2 separate regions of the Homo sapiens genome follow, and region 1 is linked to region 2. The links are contacts of gene promoters, found by promoter capture Hi-C in blood cells and fetal thymus (Javierre and others, 2016). All regions are on one chromosome and are shown on one strand. The core of a region is centred on a gene start or on the middle of the fragment in contact, and the rest is flanking DNA. Distances in the headings are between cores, read along the strand shown.

Region 1 (6,774 bases), core at 3,766-6,265, 410 kb after region 2:
GACAGAGTCTCACTGTCACCCAGGCTGGAGTGCAGTAGCACAATCTGGTGGCTCACTGCAACTTCCACCTCCTGGGTTCAAGTCATTCTCCTGCCTTAGCCTCTTGAATAGCTGGGATTACAGGCATAAGTTACCACGCCTGGCCAATTTTTGTATTTTTGAAGAGATGGGGTTTCACAATGTTGGCCAGGCTGGTCTCAAACTCCTGACCTCAGGTGATCCACCTGCCTCGGCCTTCCAAAGTGCTGGGATTGATTACAGGCATGAGCCACCATGCCAAGCCAGAGTTTCCAAATAAGGTATCAGGGATTAGGACTTCAACATGTCTTGGTGGGGGGGCACGAAATTCAATTCATAGCACCTATAATATTCAGGTGTCAGAAACAACACTGGAATCCTCAAGCTGAATATACAAACCCAATTGCCATGGTGACCCTAGCTTCTCCAAAGGCAGGGGTACCCAAGGGCTCAGATGGGATGAGAAGCTGTGGAAGAGATAGGGGCAGCTTTGGCCATTGGTTGGATGGTTAAGAATTGTAATGTGACATCAGAACAGTTCAGAAACCTGGCTCAGAAAGTCTTTTGTTGGTTTGAAAGAGTGGAGTGATCATGGCTCACTGCAGACTGGACCTCCCAGACTCAAGCAATCCTCCCACCTCAGTCTCCTGAGTAACTGAACTGCAGGCACACACCACCACATCCAACTATTTAATTTTTTTTTTTTTTTTTTTTTTTTTTTTTTGTAGAGATGGTATCTCACTATGTTGCCAGGGCTAGACTCGGAACTCCTGGGCTCAAGTGATCAGCGCTCCTACCTTGGCCTCCCAAAATGCTGAGATTACAGGCATGACCCACTGTGCCTGGCCAGCGGCAAGTCCATTCAATCAACAACTCTCTAAGAGCTTCTCATGTGCCAGGAGCTGGGCAAGGAGCAAGGCAGGCAGGATCCAGTCAATCACGGGCTCATGGGTTAGTAGGGTGACCAATAGCCAAAAGATAAGACTAATGAGGACACACTTATAAACCAGTATCTGTGCTCTGAAAGGAAGAAACTTGATGCCTTTGAGGAGACCCTCCTGTGGCTGCATTTTCCTCCTCTTTCATTCTCCTTCCCTTCCTTCCTTTCCTTTGCCTTTCTAACTACCATTCTCTTGGAGACCTGCGAGTGTTTCAACATCTCAGTGAAATAGAGGGACGAGAGCATCACCTAGTGGTCAGTGTGGGCATAGCAATGACCAAAACTGAACTAATCAGCTTGGGAGATGAAGGGCAAGGGGTGGTGGGGGTAGGCAGTGTGTGTGTCTGGCCCAGGTATGCACCTAACAGTGAAGTGAATACACTCTGGCAGATTCATGGCAATGGACAACAGCTCTTAAAGATTTACCAATTTGAAGCTGGGTACTCCCACCTCCCACAAAAAATAATCACTCCATTGTTTGGTCCTGACATAGCACGTCCCCTGGGGTGCCAGAAAGGCAGACCAAGTCCTGGCCAGGCAGGGTTAATGCTCAAGGAGAACCCTCCCATTTCCTGGCTGTAATAGCAGTGAAATCCTACCTAGCCTGGGTAGCTCTCACATCTGCTCCCATCTCCCTCCGCATTGCCGATGTCTCATCTCTTATCCCTGCATTGTCTCTAGGGTCTAATCAGACCCCCTTCCAATCCACTCCCACTTACACAGGTGTCAGAGGGATCCTTCTCAAACACCAGTCAGATCTGGGCTCAGAGCACTCCCTGGCTCCCAGTGGCTCCCTCACTTCCCTGTGACCTGGCTCCCACCGGCTCCCTCACTTCCCTGTGACCTGGCTCCCACCTAGCACTCTAGTTCACCTGCATCTCTACACGTTACCCTCTGCCATCTCCTCTATCCATCAGACACCTGTGGCAGCCTCAGCATCATACACACCCGCTCTCTATGCTCTGCCTGGAGCTCCCTGTCCAGTCTTGGTCAGCTGGCTAACTCCTGATCCTTGGAGAACCAGCTCCATCAGCACCTCTGGGCAAGGTAAGTTCCCCTTCTCAGAGCTCCCATCTTCTATCATCACACTGTGCTAGATGGGCCCAGGCTGGAGTGCGATGGCACATCTCAGCTCACTGCAACCTCCACCTCCTGGGTTCAAGCGATTCTCCTGCCTCAGCCTCCCAAGTAGGTGGGATCACAGGCGCCCGCCACCATGCCCGGCTAATTTTGTATTCATCATATTGGTCAGGCTGGTCTCAAGCTCCTGACCTCAGGTGACCCCCCCCCCCCCGTCTCTGCCTCCCAAAGTGCTGGGATTACAGGCGTGAGTCACCACACCTGGCCAAGACTCGGCCCTCTTTGAGGTACAGTGTCTGATTATGCTGTGATTCTATACCCAGCCCCAGCCCATTTCTAGACTGGGTCCCGGTACAACAGTGAACACTTGTTGAATGAATGAAGGCTCAGGTGGAAGTCCATCACTCATTCGACCATGAGCTCTGGGCCTTGCATTATATACTTTTATGTTTCCAAATGGATTTTGTTTTTGTGACCTAAGTTTTCTAGGTGTGAGACTTCACTGCCGCTCCTAGTCTGGAAGTATCCCAAGGCGGGGCCAAGGCAAGCACCAGGCTGGGTCCAGGAAGCTCCTGGGTAGAGACCACTATTGGAAAAATGGGGTTTCACAAGAGGGACTCTCCCACTCTGCCACTAGTCGGCTCCTGAAATGGGCCTTGTCTCTGAGGTGCTCCCCTAGCCACCCCTCCCTTTATCCCAGGACTTCTGAGGTTCCCACTTCAGCCTTGGTGGTGGGGAGCGGGTAGAGGAACATCTGTCACCTTCTTTTGGAGCCTGCTCCTAGGTCAGTGGGGCCAGAAATCAGTAGGGCAGAGATGGAGTGCTCATGCGTGCTGGGTTCCATTGGTGAGTCAGCACACCTACTGAAAGCCTGGGAACCAAACTTGCCGGGGTGGGGCGGGAGTGCAGAAAAGAAAGTGTTTCATGACCTGCTTGGGGGAAGGTTAATGCTCTGATGCTGGATAAACATGTTCCTCTCTTCTCTACCCCCCAGGATAGGTTTCTGGGCTGGAAGGGAACTTTTCTGACCCATCAAGAGAAATCCACTGCAGGCCGGGGGCAGTGGCTCACCCCTATAATCCCAGCACTTTGGGAGGCCGAGGCGGGTGGATCAGTTGAGGTCAGGAGTTCAAGACCAGCCTGGCTAACACGGTGAAACCCCGTTTCTAATAAAAATACAAAAATTAGCTGCTCATGGTTGCCCACGACTGTAATCCCAGCTACTCAGGAGGCTAAGGCTGGAGGATTGCTTGAACCTGGGAGGCGGAGGCGGCAGTGAGCCAAGACTGTGCCACTGCACTCCAGCCTGGGCAACAGAGTGAGACTCCGTCTCAAAATAAAAAATAAAATAAAAAAATAAAAAGAGTCCGGGAGCAGTGACTCATGCCTGTAATCCCAGCACTCCAGGAGGCTGAGGCGGGTGGATCACCTGAGGTCAGGAGTTTGAGACCAGCCTGGCCAACATGGTGAAACCCCATCTCTACTAATAATAAAAAAATTAGCCGGGCGTGGTAGTGCACACCTATAATCCCAGCTACTCCGGAGGCTGAGGCAGGAGAATCACTTGAACCTGGGAGGCAGAGGTTGCGGTGAGCTGAGATTGTGCCATTGCACTACAGCCGGGCGAAAAAATATATATATATATAAAATCGTGGTGGCTCACACCTCTAATCCCAGCACTTTGGGAAGCCAAGGCAGGTGGATCACAAGGTCAAGAGATTGAGACCATCCTGGCCAACATGGTGAAATGCCGTCTCTACTAAAAATACAAAAATTAGCTGGGCGTGGTGGCACATGCCTGTAATCCCAGCTACTTGGGAGGCTGAGGCAGAAGAATCGCTTAAACCCAGGAGGTGGAGGTTGCAGTGAGCTGAGATTGCACCACTGCACTCCAGCCTAGTGACAGAGCAAGACTCCTTCTCAAAATAATAATAATAATAATTAAAATAAAAAAAATAAAAAAGAGAGGCCGGGTGTGGTGGCTCATGCCTGTAATCCCAGCACTGTGGGAGGCCGAGGCGGGTGGATCACCTGAGATCAGGTGTTTGAGACCAGCCTGGCCAACATGGTGAGACCCCTTCTCTACTAAAAATACAAAAACTAGCCGAGTGTGGGGATACACGCCTGTAATCCCAGCTACTCAGGAGGCTGAGGCAGGAGAATCGCTTGAACCCAGGAGGCAGAGGTTGCAGTGAGCCGAGATCGCACCACAGCACTCCAGCCCGGGCGACAGAGAGATACTCCGTTTCAAAAAAAATAATAAAAAAAAATCCATTGCAGCCTTATCTCCGTGACAAGACTAGCAGACCCTGCTTTCTTTTTTTTTTTTTCGAGACGGAGTCTCACACTGTCGCCCAGGCTGGAGTGCAGTGATGCAATCTCGGCTCACTGCAACCTCCGCCTCCCAGGTTCAAGCGATTCTCCTGCCTCAGCCTCCTGAGTAGCTGGGATTACAGGCGCCCGCCACCATGCCTGACTAATTTTTGTATTTTTAGTGGAGACGGGGTTTCACCATGTTGGCCAGGCTGGTCTCAAGCTCCTGACCTCGTGATTTGCCCGCCTTGGCCCCCCAAAGTGCTGGGATTACAGGATTACAGGCATGAACCACCATGCCCGGCCTCAGGCCCTGCTTTCATAGTCCTGGTAACCCGGCTATCAGTCACTTGTTGTCTTGGAAAGTTGGACCCTTTTCAGAACCAAGACCAGTCTCCCTTAAGCTTCTACCATGCAGGACCTTGTCCAAGTTTTATCACTGCCTTTAGATGCTGAAGTCCAGGAGAAGCTAGGCCATCTTGTCAGGACAGTTTACATTCTTTCCATGCTTCTTGGGCCACCCCTGAGAGGGTCAGACAAGCAAACCCAAACCCCTTGGCCCTCTCCAGGGACTCATCAAGAGCAGGAATTTGGGGAGAGCAACGAGGGACAAAGTCTGGATGACAAAGCTCACTCCAAAGCTCAAGCAGAGATACTGCAGGGGAGGGAAACCTCCCTAAGAGCCCCTCCAGTCAGCCACAGAACGTATCTCTTGTCACCAGCAGGATTTATTTCAGGGTTCTGCCAGCAAAATGACTTATAAATACATTCTTCCGCATCTCCCCCTTTCCAGGGGTGCTGCTGAGTTGCATGGGATGAGATCTGCTTCTGAGATCCTGGGGCTGTATGCCACCCCCAACTCACCAGAGCTCTTCCAGCACACAGCAGCACCCCCACCCCCCAGCTGGCTTGGAGTTGGGCAGAGAAGCTTATGAGGCTGTTATCTCTCAACAGACAGCTGTGCAGGGCTGGAGGCAGCAGCTTATCAGGAGGCCTGCAGTGATTCACAGCCCAAGACCCAGCTTCTCTGCTGAATAGTAATTTCCAGCAGTGGATTTGTGCTCAGTCTCTCTCCTCCCCCTTTCCCAAGGGTGTGCTGTCCTTTCTCAGAGAGAGGGCAGTGAAGGGGAGATCCTACCCACAGAGCTGGGGGCTTTGTGCCAGCCTTCTGGGTAAGGTTCAGTTTATTGTCTGGAGGCTGCAGATTCAGGGACCTCAGCAGGGTCTGCCACCCTTTGCAGTGACCTCCAGGAGAGTTCATCGATGCTGTCCTTCCACTCCTTCCTTCCCCTCCCAGAAAAACAATGTGCCGCTCCCTTTCCCTTAGTGGCGATGTACAGGGGTACACGGGCCCCCATTTGCAACAGCCTCTGAGGCCAGGGCCAGCCCGGGAGGGCGGAGTGGGGGAGGAGAGAGGAAGAAGCCAGGGACTGGGCAGTGCCTTGCACCATTTTGAAGCTGTTCAGTCTCTGTGCCTGACCCTGAAGACTCCAAAGACTCAGGACGCAAGGCTGGAGGGGAGGGGAGACACAAGGGGCCAGGCGAGAGCTGTCTCTGCACAGGCGGGTGGTTAGAAAAAAAATGGGGGACACAGCCATTTTTGTGCTTGTTTTATTGGAAGCAAGACTCCAGCCAGCTGCAGGGCTCAGGGGAGGAGGCCTGGAGAGTTCAGTCCTGGGTCTCCCTCTGGGCCAGCAGGGGGAAAAGGGGTGTTAAAAGAGCTAGAACCCTCAGAGATGCTCCTCTGAAGCAGGGGAAAGAAAACTAGAAAGGAAAACTGTCCCAGGGCGGGGAGCGGAATAGGGCCCCCACATCTCAGACTCTCCTACCCTCAAGCAGTTAATTCTCACCCCCTGCCTTCCTCTGTCAACGGTGGGGGTGATTCCAATAACTCTTCTCAGCTTCCATACTTCAGGTGCTCTTCGTGAATGCTGGGTGGCTTTAACCCTTGGGGGTCCCAAACAAGTTTCCAGAATCCCACTGTCCACCATTCTCCCCCAAAGAAGGTCCCAGAAAAGGTGAAGTTCCGTGTCTTCACGCAACACGGGCATAAGCAGCAATTATCGCACGAAGTTTCCCTAGGGTGGTCGGGGATCCTCTCCTGCCACTCCTGGGGCCCCTCTCTTGTCGCCTTAAGGTCCATGCTACCTGTCTTGAGGAGCTGTGTCCAGGTTGTGGGCTCCGGAGGACCGAGGAGTGAAAGGCTGGAGGTACATCTGAAGGTGGAGGCGCTGGCGGAAGATCCTGCCGGACTAGGTGGCCCACAGTCCGGAGTTTCAGGCCGTCTGATCCTCGTCCGCAACCCCTGGCTCGGGTTGCGATCGCTTCGCGGAGCCTTCTCCAGCTGCGGGTTCCCCTAGGCTCCTCTTGGACGCTGGCGCGGCTGGCGGGGACGAGGGACCAGGATGGGGATTCGGGGGCTG
Region 2 (7,146 bases), core at 3,986-6,485:
GAGCATGCTTTTCTGTTTCAGCTACTGAGGTCAACTAGTAGGGCCACTTTCCTAGGACCTTTTCTATACCTTGAGACAGAGATAAAACTGAAGAGGTAGGCAAGAAGCTAGATCTTCTTAGGGCCCTGTAGGCCACATAAAGGAATTTAGGACTTGATCCCAAGAGCAATGCGAAGCCATAGAGCATTTTAAGGAGAAAGATCCGATCACTTGAGCTGTAGTGAAGACAATAACTCTAGAAGTTTTGCCAGGAAGGGGAATTAGTGAGATAAGGCTTTAGTCAACAGAATGTGGGATTGAGGGAAAGGCTTTTTTTTCCTTCTTCTTTTGAAAGCAAAAGATGAGTGAAACTAGAGTTTGCTTGAATACTAATGAAAGGATCCAACATTGCAAGAGGTTAAAGGGAGATCCCTAAGAATTGTGAAGGGAAACTTGAACAGCTATGGAGTTTGGCTTTTTTGTTTTTAGACGGAGTTTTCGCTCTTGTTGCTCAGGCTGGAGTGCAGTGGCACCATCTTGGCTCACTGCAACCTCTGCCTCCTGGCTTCAAGAGATACTCCTGCCTCAGCCTTCCGAGTAGCTGGGATTACGGCCAACTGCCGCCATGTCTGGCTAATTTTTGTATTTTCAGTAGAGACGAGATTTCACCATGTTGGCCAGGCTGGTCTGGAACTCCTGACCTCAAGTGATCTGCCCGCCTCGACCTCCCAAAGTGCTGAGGTTACAGGCATGAGCCATTGCACCCGGCCTGGAGTTTGGCTTTTAAGAAAAAAACTTCATACAATAAAATTGACTTTATTTTTGTTATATACAGTCCTATGGATTTTAACACATGTACAGATTGAAGTAACTACTACCAAAATCAGGATTCAAAAGAGTTCCATCACCCTAAAACCGTCCTTTTTGCTATCTCTTTAGTCATTCCCTCCACCCCCTTAGCTCCTGGCAATCACTGACTTACTCTCCAAACTATAATTTCAATATTTGTATGTGTGTCATTTGAGACTGACTTAGTTTACTTGGCATAATCCTTTCATTATTATGTAGTTATAATGCCTACTTGTTGTGTATATCAATACTTTATTCTTTTTATTGCTAATATTCCATTGGTGTTGGCTTCTGCTGGTATTCCTTAGGTCAGCAAATGATACCATTATTCTAACAATTACTTGGGCCAAAAACCTTGGCATCATCCTTCACTCTCTTCTCTAGCCTATACAACCAATCCATCAGCAAATCTTAGTGGTTCCACTTTCTTATCTTTTTATTTAGTTATTTTTTTTGAGACAGCGTCTCTCTCTGTTGCCCAGGCTGGAGTGCAGTGGCATGATCATGGCTCACTACAGCCTCCATCTCCTGGGCTCAAGCCATCCTCCCATCTCAGCCCTGACTAGCTGGGACTACAGGCACACACCATCGCACCTGGCTGATTTTTGTATTTACTGATAGAGACGGAGTTTCACCATGTTGCCCAGGCTGTTCTCGAACTCTTAGGCACGAGCGATCCACCCGTCTCAGCCTCCCATAGTGTTGGGATTACAGGTATGGGCCACTGTGCTCACTGGCTCGCTCAGCCAGCTCCACTTTCAAAATACACGTGGAATCTAACCACTTACCACTACCTCCACTGCTGTTACTTAGTTCAGGCCACCATCATCTTCTGCCAAGATTAGTGCTTCTACTCTTACCCCTTACCCTCATAGTCTATTCTCAACACAACAGCTAGAATGATCCCTTTAGAGATATAAATCTGATCAAGTAGCTCTTGTGTTCAGAACTCTCCAGGGCTTTCAGTGGTGACCGGCAAAATTGTTGCCATAATTGAGAAGGCCCTGCATGGTAAGGCCCCAGCTACCTTTTTTATCTGGTCTCTTAGCACTCTCCCCATCACTCACTCTGAATCAACATAGTGATCTCCTTGCTATTCCCATAGCACCTCAAGCAGGCTCCTGCCTCAGGGCATTTGAATTTGCTGTCTCCTCTGCCTGGAACACTCTCCCCCTAGATATCTACATGGCTTACACCCATTAAGTCAAGGCCAGTTTCTGCTTAAGGGCTCCTTATAAATTCTTCTCTGACTAACATCTAAAATAGCAGCTACCTGACACCACTGTCTAATCCCTACCCTGCTTTGTTTTCTTAGCATATATCCCTGACATTACATACTTGTTTTCTCTCCTCGAACTAGTAAAGATCCTTGCGAGCAGGGAATTTGTTTTGTCCATTGCTCAGTAAGCACCTACATGAGTGCCTGGTCTGGCATATAGTGGGAGTTGAATGAATATTTTTGATTGAATAAATAGGAGGTAAGGACAGGATGGGAAGGCAAGTAAGTAGGTTTCTCGATTTCAGGACATTCTACATTTTCTGTTACTTACATGATAAGGAAGTCAGGGGAAGTGGTAAGGGTATAGGTCAGAGATTTGTAGAGATCGTGGAGAGCAAGTTGACTAGAAAAATATAATGAAATTTCTAGTCACAGTTCACAGTCCTTTTTTTTTTTGAGACGGAGTCTTGCTCTGTCACCCCGGCTGGAGTGCAGTGGCGCGATCTCAGCTCAATGCAAACTCCACCTCCCGGGTTCAAGCAATTCTTCTGCCTCAGCCTCCAAAGTAGCTGGGATTACAAGTGCTTGCCACTGCGCTCAGCTAATTTTTGTATTTTTAATAGAGACGGGGTTTCACAATGTTGGCCAGGCTGGTCTCGAACTCCTGACCTCATGATCCACCCACCTCAGCCTCCCAAGTGCTGGGATTACAGGTGTGAGCCGCCGCACCTGACCCACAGTCCATTTAAAGTTGGTCTTTATTAATGTAGTGACGCCAATCTGTTCAGCAGGACACTTTTTCTTTTTTTGAGGTGGAGCTTTGCTCTTGTTGCCCAGGCTGGAGTGCAATGATGCAATCTCAGCTCACTGCAACCTCTCCTCTCAGGTTCAAGCTCTCCTGCCTCAGCCTCTGGAGTAGCAGGGATTACAGGTCTTCACCACCACGCCCGGCTAATTTTTGTATTTTTAGTAGACAGGGTTTCACCATGTTGGTCAGGCTGGTCTCAAACTCCTGACCTCAGGTGATCCACCCGCCTCGGACTCCCAAAGTGCTGGGATTACAGGCATGAGCCATCGTGCTCGGCCTCAACAGGACAATTTTTTTGTTTTTGAGATGAAATCTTGCTCTGTCACCCAGACTGGAGTGCAGTGGCGTGATCTCGGCTAACTGCAACCTCCGCCGTCCAGGTTCAAGCGATTCTTCTGCCTCAGCCTCCCCAGTAGCTGGGACTACAGGCATGCGCCACCACACCCAGCTAATTTTTGTATTTTTAGTAGAGACGGGGTTTCACCATATTGGCCAGGCTGGTTTCTAACTCCTGACCTCGTGATCCGCCCACCTCGGCCTCCCAAAGTGTTGGGATTACAGGCATGAGCCACCACGCCCAGCAACAGGACAACTTTCTATGACAAGGTACAAGCAAGGAGAAACACATAGGTCCATCCAGGGTGAGGGATTTCGTTGGGGAAAAAGGAGTGTTGTGGTGGGATTAAGATTAAGTAGGGGCAGGACTGTATTAATGTACCACTGAATCTAAAATGGATAAGGAAGGAAGTGAAGAGGGGATTAATGTATAAGAGATAAAGTAGAGGCTTTCAACCGATTAGATGCTCTGCTCTGATAAAGTGAAAGAACAGGCCGGGTGCAGTGGCTTACGCCTGTAATCCCAGCACTATGGGAGGCCGAGGCGAGCGGATCACCTGAGTTCAGGACTTCGAGACCAGCCTGGCCAACATGGCGAAACCTGTCTCTACTAAAAATGCAAAAATTAGCTGGCTTGGTGGCGCACACCTGTAATCCTAGCTACTCGAGAGGCTGAGGCAGTAGAATTGCTTGAACCCAGGAGGCGGAGGTTGCAGTGAGCTGAGGTTGCGCCACTGCACTCCAGCCTGGGCGACAGAGCAAGACTCCTTCTAAAAAAAAAAAGTGAAATAACAGTAATAACAGTTATGCTGTAATTCTATTTTTTTTGGGGGGGGGGAACAGTGTCTCTGTCACCCAGGCTGGAGTGCAGTGGCACAATCATGGCTCACTGCAACCTCCGCCTCTCCTGGGCTCAGGTGATCTCCCACCTCAGCCTTCCGAGTAGATGGGACCACAGGCATGCGCCAAAACGCCTCATTAAACTTTGTATTTTTTGTAGAGATGGGGTATCGCCTTGTTGCCCAGGCTGCTCTCCAACTACTGGGCCCAAGAGATTCGCCTGCCTCAGCCTTCCAAAGTGCTGAAATTACAGGCGTGAGCTACTGCATCAGGCCTATAATTCAAAAGTAGTCAAGCTGAGAGAATAGCAGGCTGTGGTTGAAAAGAGGGTTGTTCAAATTACTGAGTCGTGACGCGATAGCGTTTGGAGGGACAAGGTCCAGGTTTTAACTGGGATTGGGAGGCTGATATAAGGGTCGCTAAAGACGAGGCCCGATGTTGAATGGGTTGGCCACATAGGCTCTGAAATTATCAAAGATGGTCAGACGGGAGACAGACAAGGAGCTGGATACACAGATCGGCAGATTATCTCCAAACGGGGTGAAGTAGGTGACAGAGTCTAAGGGGAAGGGCTGAAGAAGCAAGTGTTTTTACAAGAGGTGACAGCACCTGGCACATAATCCCGACCTCTGCAAACTGAGACCTGAGAATACTAATTCATGTGAGAAAGTTTCAAGGGACGCAACATTCTCGGGACAGCCAGGTCTCTGTCCCAGGAAGGAGCGGAGAAGTTTAGAGACAAGCTGATCTAAACACGAGAACCTCTGAGGAAGACCGGCTTGAAGGCAGGAGATTGAGGAGGGGACCGAAGCGACGGCAAACCCTACACTCCTCTGCTCTTTAGTTACTTTCCTCCCAGCCAACCGCCCAAGCCACACCAACCTCCGCAATAGAAAACGCTCGGAGAACACGATCTCCCGCCCAGCTCTTTTCAACTCCCCGCGGAAGTGCTCACACCGGAACCCCTCTGTGTCCGCACTTTGCCATTGGCCGAGGCTTCCGCCCGCTTCCATTCGCTTCCTCCCACAACTCAGTCGGGCTGCGCGGTCCGTAGGAGTCACTTCCGCCTCGTCCCACCCCGCCCCCCGGTCCCTTTCTAGCAGCTTCCGGCTTCGGTCCCGCCCCGCCCCCTGTGGCCCCGCCCCGCCCCCGCCCCCGCCCCTGGCTGGCGGTCCAGCCCCGCGGCGCCGCTTCCGGTGCGGGCCCCGCCCCGGCTGTGGCCCCCGGCTGCGGAGGAGTCCGAGACGCAGCTGCCGCGCCGGGGCCTGAGCTGCCGCCTCCTCCGCCGCCCGAAAACCCGGAGTGCCCCGCACAGGTAAGTGGCCCGGGTCCGGGCTCCCTCAGGCATGGCGGGAGAGGAGGCTGCGACAGGTGGAGGGGCCGAGGCCAGGAGCCGAGGCAGGTGTAGAGAGAGAGGGGAATGCGCGAGTCGGGGGCGCGGGGACCGCGAAGGAAAGTGAGAGCGCCGCGGGAGCCCCGAGCGCCCTGTGCCCATTAGGGCATTTGAGATAAAGCGTTTGAGATAAAGCGATGAGAAGGGTGAGGGGCCCTGGAGCTGAGTGGGCGCGCAGATAGGTGGGGCGGGGGCCATCGGAAGAGCCAGCGGATTGGCTGGGAGGGTTGGTAGAGGTAAAAATGATAGGGCTGAATGGGGGGAGGTGAATAAAGAATGGGGGGAGGCGTGCAGGGGTGACCGGGAAGGTGGGCTGTGGGGCTTACAGGGGCCCGGGGCCAAAAGAATCCGGCAGCAAAAGCAGGGGAATGGTCAGCAGGCCGGGTTCAAAGCTGCAGGTAGTCCGTTGTACCCGGCTTGGTGGTCCGGGAACTTTAGGGGAAATGGGGGAGGGGCCCGTGTGAAGGGATGAAGAGGTTTAGATTTGAGACATAAGTTCTCCAAATGTAGGCAGGTGGCATTGTTTGGATCGCTGGCTGCTTAGGGACTGCGGGAAAATGGGCTCTTTGGGGGAGGGTGTGTGTATTGAGTTGTAGAACTGAGTCATCTCAGTCTTACTATAAGAGGCTGTGGGAGGGACACCTCCCCCTCTGCTGGGGACAGCATTCAGAGAAGATGGTGCCACAAGACAAGAAGCAGTTGTTCAGTGACTGGCAGGACTTGGTTGAGAAGTTATTCCGATCGTGATTGATTGACTGTAATGACTATGAGGACATTTAAAATGAACACCGAATTATTTGCTTTATTCTGTAATTTTCTTTGACCCAAATTGTTTTCATTTTAAATGAACACTTTTGCCAACTGAATTTAATGTGGATGTAAATCTTGTCATGCTTTTTTACACTGTAAGAAGAGCTAAAGCAGAATGAAAGTATTGCTGCAAGCGTAACTCACACTTTCTGAAGTGCCAAGAGAGGAAGTAAAGGCAGTAAGAGGCAAATTGGAATGCGAATCTTTCACAGAACACAAAAGGCACAAACAGGGCTATAAGATAAACAGAAAATGAGAATTTTTAATCTCTACTAATTGGCCTAGCTTTAAAAATTGTACCCTTTTTTACTCTAACCTGGAAAAAATCTTAAATCCAAGCAGTTTTTATTGCTGAAGATGTGATTACTTCTCCGTGAATTTTTGAAGATACTAAAGACACTTTGTTTTTTGTCTTTCGACCCAATCCTAAAACACTGGAACAATGCAGATATCAAGTCCCAACATGTGCAGTGCAGCTTCTTTCATGTGATGACAAAATTGTACGCCATGTTGCAAGTCCTGTTCACCTAAAATTGCCCTTGCATAGTAATCCATTCAGTTATGGAGACTTGCTGAAGAAACATAACTCAAGTGAAGTTTGTTGGGGGTGAGGGCCTGCAGGGGAGAGGTGGGGGAGTAAAAGGAGAAGAGGGTGTGAAAGTGATGTGTGTTTGGAGACTGATTGGTAAGAATGCAGATAAACCTGCCCCCAGAATGCTTTTGGCCCGAAAGACTTTTCTTTTTGTGTTTGTCAGAGAATATCATAATAGAAATGAATCAGAAAGAAAGGGGATGTGAAGAGATTTACTTCGCTGTTTATAAAAAAGAAGCAGCATTAACTTGTTGTTCAGACAATGTTGATATCTGTTTCAAATTAATTAACTTTAAAATCTCCAGAGGAATTCCCCCGTT

Evidence for each region. Contacts are between HindIII fragments. The CHiCAGO score rates a contact against its expected background, and 5 or more counts as called.
Region 1: a fragment that was not itself captured here is called in contact with the fragment with the promoter of ARID3B in region 2 in 1 of 17 cell types (non-activated CD4 T cells); the score reaches 5.6 in non-activated CD4 T cells.

The regions. Positions count from the first base shown.
Region 1 is chr15:74,949,357-74,956,130 of GRCh38, forward strand. RPP25 (ribonuclease P/MRP subunit p25) reads right to left here. Exons shown (of 1, transcript NM_017793.3): 1 at 5,062-6,774. The coding sequence ends at 6,628. Among named protein-coding and RNA genes, the nearest start is that of RPP25, 4.0 kb to the right of the region's middle. RefSeq lists enhancers at 1,331-1,380, 5,232-6,165, 6,166-6,774. The HindIII fragment of the contact is 524 bases long and covers 4,754-5,277 here.
Region 2 is chr15:74,535,985-74,543,130 of GRCh38, forward strand. It overlaps ARID3B (AT-rich interaction domain 3B), which reads left to right and starts at 5,236. Exons shown (of 9, transcript NM_006465.4): 1 at 5,236-5,346. It overlaps LOC124903528 (a long non-coding RNA gene), which reads right to left and starts at 5,104. Exons shown (of 2, transcript XR_007064719.1): 1 at 4,914-5,104. RefSeq lists enhancers at 4,492-4,621, 4,556-5,097, 4,672-4,821, 6,172-6,231 and silencers at 5,122-5,481, 5,998-6,182. The HindIII fragment of the contact is 12,648 bases long and covers 1-7,146 here.